2 separate regions of the Homo sapiens genome follow, and region 2 is linked to region 1. Evidence: promoter capture Hi-C in human tissues and cell types (Jung and others, 2019). All regions are on one chromosome and are shown on one strand. The core of a region is centred on a gene start or on the middle of the fragment in contact, and the rest is flanking DNA. Distances in the headings are between cores, read along the strand shown.

The links. Contacts are between HindIII fragments. The study calls those that stand out against the background at their distance.
Region 2: a contact is called between a fragment that was not itself captured here and the fragment with the promoter of KRAS in region 1, in 1 of the 25 tissues and cell types used here (mesenchymal stem cells).

The regions. Positions count from the first base shown.
Region 1 is chr12:25,249,258-25,252,331 of GRCh38, forward strand. It overlaps KRAS (KRAS proto-oncogene, GTPase), which reads right to left and starts at 1,672. Exons shown (of 5, transcript NM_004985.5): 1 at 1,494-1,672. RefSeq lists silencers at 1,273-1,322, 1,383-2,232. The HindIII fragment of the contact is 8,237 bases long and covers 1-3,074 here.
Region 2 is chr12:25,927,154-25,930,227 of GRCh38, forward strand. No RefSeq gene overlaps it. Among named protein-coding and RNA genes, the nearest start is that of RASSF8, 30 kb to the right of the region's middle. The HindIII fragment of the contact is 4,682 bases long and covers 1-3,074 here.

The DNA of each region.
Region 1 (3,074 bases), core at 422-2,921:
ATGGCAGCAGACACCTGTAATCCCAGTTATTCGGGAGGCTGAGGCAGGAGAATTGCTTGAATGCAGGAGGCAGAGGTTGCAGTGAGCCGAGACGGCGCCACTGCACTCCAGCCTGGGCAACAGAGCAGATGGAGACCATCCTGACCAACATGATGAAACTCTGTCTCTACTAAAAATACAAAAATTAGCTGGGCATGGTGGCGTGCACCTACTAGTCCCAGCTACTCGGGAGGCTGAGGCAGGAGAATTGCTTGAACCCAGGAGGCGGAGGTTTCAGTGAGCCGATACCGCGCCATTGCACTCCAGCCTGGGCAACAGAGCGAGACTGTGTCTCAAAAAAAAAAAAAAAAAGGAGATGCACATGTTTAAGTCTATTTCAGGCGGTTAGCTGGTGGATTGCTACAATTCCTCTGTAAGTTTAAAAAATCATGTAAGTGCTGTTTTGGAGTACTGTAATAACTCTTGAGATGTAGAACACATCTGCAAAATGAGGGTAGTATAAAAGAGACGAGGGGATGAGGGTAATACATAAGAAATAGGGGAAAGGACAAGAACAGGTAAATTAAACTTCAAGTACTATTTTTGCTATTGCTGTCTACACTCAACTAGCAAGGAAAAAGCCTTGCTTCTGCTCTGCGGGTTTTCTTCGGGTTTAACTTGACCAAGCAAAACAGACCATCTGGGATTAACTTTTTCCTTTTCACTGTAGGTCACAGGCTCTACGTGTAGGGTGTTGGCCACCTGTTCTTCCACCATCTCTACCTCCACCTCCTCCTTTGTGGCCACAGCAATGTCACAGCCCATACATGGGGGAGGGGAGCATTCAGGAACTCGGAGGCAGATGCATTTTTTTCCAAACACAATAACCTCAAACAGTGGTCTCTAAGCACTTTCCTATGCTCTTCCAAAACGTGACCTCCCCTCTTACTCACACATCCCCTACACACGGAAAAGGACCACTATCCGTCCAGCCTGCGCTCGAGGGAGAAGTTTATACCTTCGTCCTAGAGATGCCAAATGCAGCAGGGAAGGCTGGACCGAGGCAGCCGAGTGCTGGAAAGGGAGGCAAGAGGTGCGGGAGCGGGGAGAGGGGGAGGGGAGGCCGGGGCGCCGCGGGAGTAACCTCCACCGCACCCCACCGCTCCGAGGGGCAGCCGGCCCGGCCCGAGTTTCTCCCCAGAAGCCTCCAGCCGCGGCTCTCGGGGAGGAGGAAGGAAGGGGTTCCCCGTCCAGGAAGCAGCACCAGCGGCGACCGCCTCCAGCCTCACCCTCCTCAGCCCCGCACCGCCCATTCCTCACTCCCCGCGCCGCCGCGTCCGCGCGCCTCCCCCCTGCAGACCCCTCTCACCCAGCCCGCCCCGACCCCGCGCCCGCGCCCCCCACCCGCCCCTCCGGGGACCCCTAATTCATTCACTCGCCGCCGGCCCCGCCCGGCGCCGGCAAAGAGGGTCGGGACCCGGGCAGGGGCCCAGGAGGGGTGGTCCGCTCCGTACCTCTCTCCCGCACCTGGGAGCCGCTGAGCCTCTGGCCCCGCCGCCGCCTTCAGTGCCTGCGCCGCGCTCGCTCCCAGTCCGAAATGGCGGGGGCCGGGAGTACTGGCCGAGCCGCCGCCACCTTCGCCGCCGCCACTGCCGCCGCCGCTGCTGCCTCCGCCGCCGCGGCCGCCGCCTAGGAAAATCGAGCTCCGAGCACACCGATGAGTTCGGGGCCGGGCGGCCGCAGAGGGCAGAGCTATCGATGCGTTCCGCGCTCGATTCTTCTTCAGACGGGCGTACGAGAGGGAGCGGCTGAGGGCGGTGTGGGAAGAGGGAAGAGGGGGAGGCAGCGAGCGCCGGCGGGGAGAAGGAGGGGGCCGGGCCGGGCCGGCGGGGGAGGAGCGGGGGCCGGGCCGGCGGAGGAAGGGGTGGCTGGGGCGGTCTAGGGTGGCGAGCCGGGCCGGCTGGAGAGCGGGTCTGGGCGGCGCCTTGGCGGGAGGAGGGACTGCCGGACCCACGCGGCGGCCCGCCCCCTGCCTAGCCGCAAGGCTGTCCCCGCAGCCGCCAATTCTGACCCGGAGCGGGACCGGACCGCGGCGGGCTGTGCGGATGCCACCAGGGAGACGCCGCGAGCGGCCACGCCGCCCCGCTGACCGGTCTCCACAGAGAAGCTGCGAAGAGCACCCCGCCACCCTCAGGGTCGGCCTATACTGGCGCGCATCCATTTACTATCATTGACTGCATGTAAATAAACAAGCAGTCACCAAAAGTGGGAGGCGACTTCGGGGACTTAGGGAGACCGGGCGGACGATTTCCCACACCGGGGCTGTCTGATCGCCGCCCCGATTATTATCAGCCTCAGCACTTGGGCTGGGAATTTAGCCCCAGGCCCAAACAAACACGACAGACCCTTTCAACGCTAATCTTCTCGGGTCAGGAGGCTTGTGATATTTTGCTATCTTTCTTGATATTTTGAACCCATCACAAGGTCTCTAAACAGGGACTTCGCTTATACCCAGGGCCCCTGAAATCACAAACAAAAGACAACTGTTTTTAAGTAGAGATGGCCTTGGTAGTTTAGACCTGAGGAGAGTCATTCAAACATTAATTAGAAGACAGATTAATCAGTTAAAGTTCGTGGAGTTAAGACATTAAACAATGGGGCAATTAAACATGCTAGCATACCCGGAGTCTGTGTTGATAAACTACCTAGAAATGTATCTTGGGAGAGTCTTGAGGATTGAGGGCTGGAAAAGCAGCGCCTGTACCTGATAGGATCGCCCCTCCTCCGAGACTTTCAGTTCCATTCCTCTAGTCCACATCATAAACCACCAATAAAGCTGAATTTAAATCCCAGCTATTATGTCTGTTAACCAAGGCTTTACATCAACTGTCATCCTTTCCTTTCTACTCTTACACGGGCTGTAATCTGCAAGGTTTATTCCAGTCTCCCCCTCCTAGCGCCAGGTGGAAGGGGCAGAAGAGAAAAGTGAAAGACAGGGAAGGGGAGAAAATGTGCCTACTCTATGTTAAGTACAAGCTAAATCTTTTGCACTTATCGTATCATCTTATTTAATCATCACGACAACCTTATGAGGT
Region 2 (3,074 bases), core at 246-2,745, 680 kb after region 1:
ATAAGTTTTCTTCTATCTCCCCTCACTGTCTTCAACACTTTCTTATTAAATGTTTCTGCCTCTAGATATTGCTCTGAGTTAATGGTTCTTAAAGTGTGGTCCCAGAACCAGCAGCATTAGCATTTTCTGAGAACTTAGAAATGGAAATTCTTAGCCAGGCATGGTAACTCATGCCTGTAATCTCAGCACTTTGGGAGGCTGACGTGAGAAGATCACTTGAACTCAGGAGTTTGAGATCAGGCTGGACAACATAGTGAGACCCCATCTCATATTAAAAAAAAAAAAAAGAAATGGAAATTCTCAGGCCCCACCCCAGATCTACTGCATCAGAAACTTTGGGAGTGGAACCAGCAATTGGTGGTTTAAAAAGTCCTCCAGGTGATTCTGATTCATGTTCAAGTGTGAGAGCCAGAGACCTAAATCATTCCATTTCTGTTCAGATTCATGGCTTGTCTCTGCCCCTTAAATTTTCTTTTCATGACTTAGTCTCTTCTATGATTACTAACCATTTTGTTTGGTAACATTATCAATTGTTTCATAACTCAGAACCCTACTATCCCCATCTCCATCCAAAACTGGCTGCTGGCTGGGCTCACATCTTTAATCCTTTAGTTTGTTTTTTGAGACGGAGTCTTGATCTGTCGCTCAGGAGGGAGTGCAATCTCATGATCTTGGCTCACTGCAACTTTCGCCTCCAGGGTTCAAGTGATTCTCCTGCCTCAGCCTCCCGAGTAGCCTCCCGAGTAGTACAGGCATCCGCCACCACACCCGGCTAATTTTTGTATTTTTAATAGAGATGAGCTTTTGACATGTTGGCCAGGCTTGTTTCGAACTCCTGACCTCAAGTGATCCACCCTCCTCCACCTCCCAAAATGCTGGAAATACAGGTGTGAACCACCATGTCTGGCCTCACATCTGTAATTCTAACACTTTGGGAGGCAAAGGCAAGTGAGTCACTTGAGCCTAAGAGTTTGAGACGAGCCTGGGCGATATAGGGGCGAGACTCTGTCTATACCAAAAAAAAAAAAAAAAAGCCAGGCGTGGTGGTACCTGTCTGTGGTCTCAGCTGCTTGGGAGCCTGAGATGGGAGGATTGCTTGAGTCAGGAGGTTGGGCCTGCAGTAAGCCATGATCATACCGTTGCACTGCAGCCTGGGTAACAGAGCAAGACCCTGTCTCATAAAACAAACAAACAAAAAAACAAAACAGGTTGCTATTTGGCCCTGAAATCATTTTAAATTAGGATATACACATCTCTTTTGTGCAGATTTTTGTCACTTCCTAATTATGATATCTGATTAATTGAAAATTCGGACAACTTAGTTTGTTTTAATTTAGTTTACCAGGTGTTCATTTTCACTGCCATTGTATATATAACACAAATCACTCACAAATCTATAAATCTTTGCTCTGTGTTTTGTTTTGAATGGGTAAATAGAAAATCTCCTATCACAGGACAGTATAGGTAGCACTGAAAAAAATTGGTTTTCACAGCACTGATTCCCTAACAACTTGAAAAGCATCAAGCAATTCAATTATCCTAAAATTGTCATCCAATTTGTTTCAGTGCGGGAGAGCTAGTATGCTTATGTCATGAAGACCAGGAAATTAGCTGCTTTCTGGAATAAGTGAATTTTTTCCTTCCCATCTTTGCCATATCTCTGAAATAAATATTTAAAGACAGTAGGGATTGGAAGGATTGGGGCAAGGGGAAGGAAAAGGAGAGGTGAAATGGGATCTGAGAGAACAAAGATGTTTTTCATTTCAAATGACTCCAAAATATCAGTAGTTATTCAATGTGCTGAATGTACTCTTCCATGATACTATAGTAAATGTTTGCTTATACCTAAGTAGTTCAAATAATTGAATACTTCATGTATTTATTGACTTCCCTCCCAACATTCCCCAAATGTTTACACAAATTAATTTTCAATCAATAAAATGTGTAGACATTCATGATTCTGCTATAAATTAATATTAATGTGTAACATTTTGGGGAAGTGTCACTCTTATGCCATTCACTATGAGGCATTTTTTAGGGTAGCAAGTCATTCACTTAAATTGTAATGAAAGCATTTAGTTTTTATTAGTGTGTAGGAGTCTTGTTCTCAAGGGAGTATTTCACAGCTATTATTCATTCAATCTCAGTTACCCTGGGAGGGAGGGAAAGGGGACCCAGTGAGCCAAAGTCAATGAGTTGAGTCATTGTTCAGTTCCCTTCCAAAGGACTACTCAGTTTCAACTAAACCCCTTAGGTTCAATTTAAGATTCCTGGCAAAGGCTTTCCTTTGTGATTTATTGCCATTGACAACAGCAGACATCGCCTGTCTGTTCTCTATTTGTCTTCCACCTGCAGGACCTTGGGAGGATCCCTGGAAGCTTCCTGAGGAGCAATAGCCTCCCAGGGTCAAGCAGACATTCCCGGAGTGGCATCTTCCGATTACTTCTGAGATCCACAGAACCCACCAGAATGGCCAGCCTTGTACCTTATGATCAATACTCTAAGATTTTAAATTTGGTGGTCGTGATGATGATCCTTTCTGATTTCATCTTCATTAATTTCTATCTTTTGTACATCCCTTCACCTTAAAGAAGTGGCACTTTGGCCTCATGGACTGGACTATGGTGGCACAATTATAGCTCATGGCAGCCTCAAACTCCTGGGCTCAAGCAATTCTCCCATGTCCTGGGTCTCTAGGACTGCAGGTGCACACCACCATGCCTGGCTCTTCGTTTGTTTGTTTGTTTTTTCTAATCCTAGCTAATCACATTCTTTTAGTTTCCCTTGCTTCACCAAGGAGTCTGGACTCCAGGTCAAGTCAAGTGATTTCTTTCCTTTTTTTTTTTTTTTTTTTTTTGAGACAGGATCTCTCTCTGTCGCCCAGGCTGGATTGGAATGCAGCGGTATGCTATCAGGTCCCTGCAACCTCCATCTCCCAGGCTCAAGTGATTCTCATGCCTCAGTCTCCCAAGTAGCTGAAAGTACAGCTGTGCACCACCACGCCCAGCTAATTTTTGTTTTTGTTTTTTTTTTTGGTAGAGGGAGGTTTTCGCCATATTTTCCAGCCTGGTCTC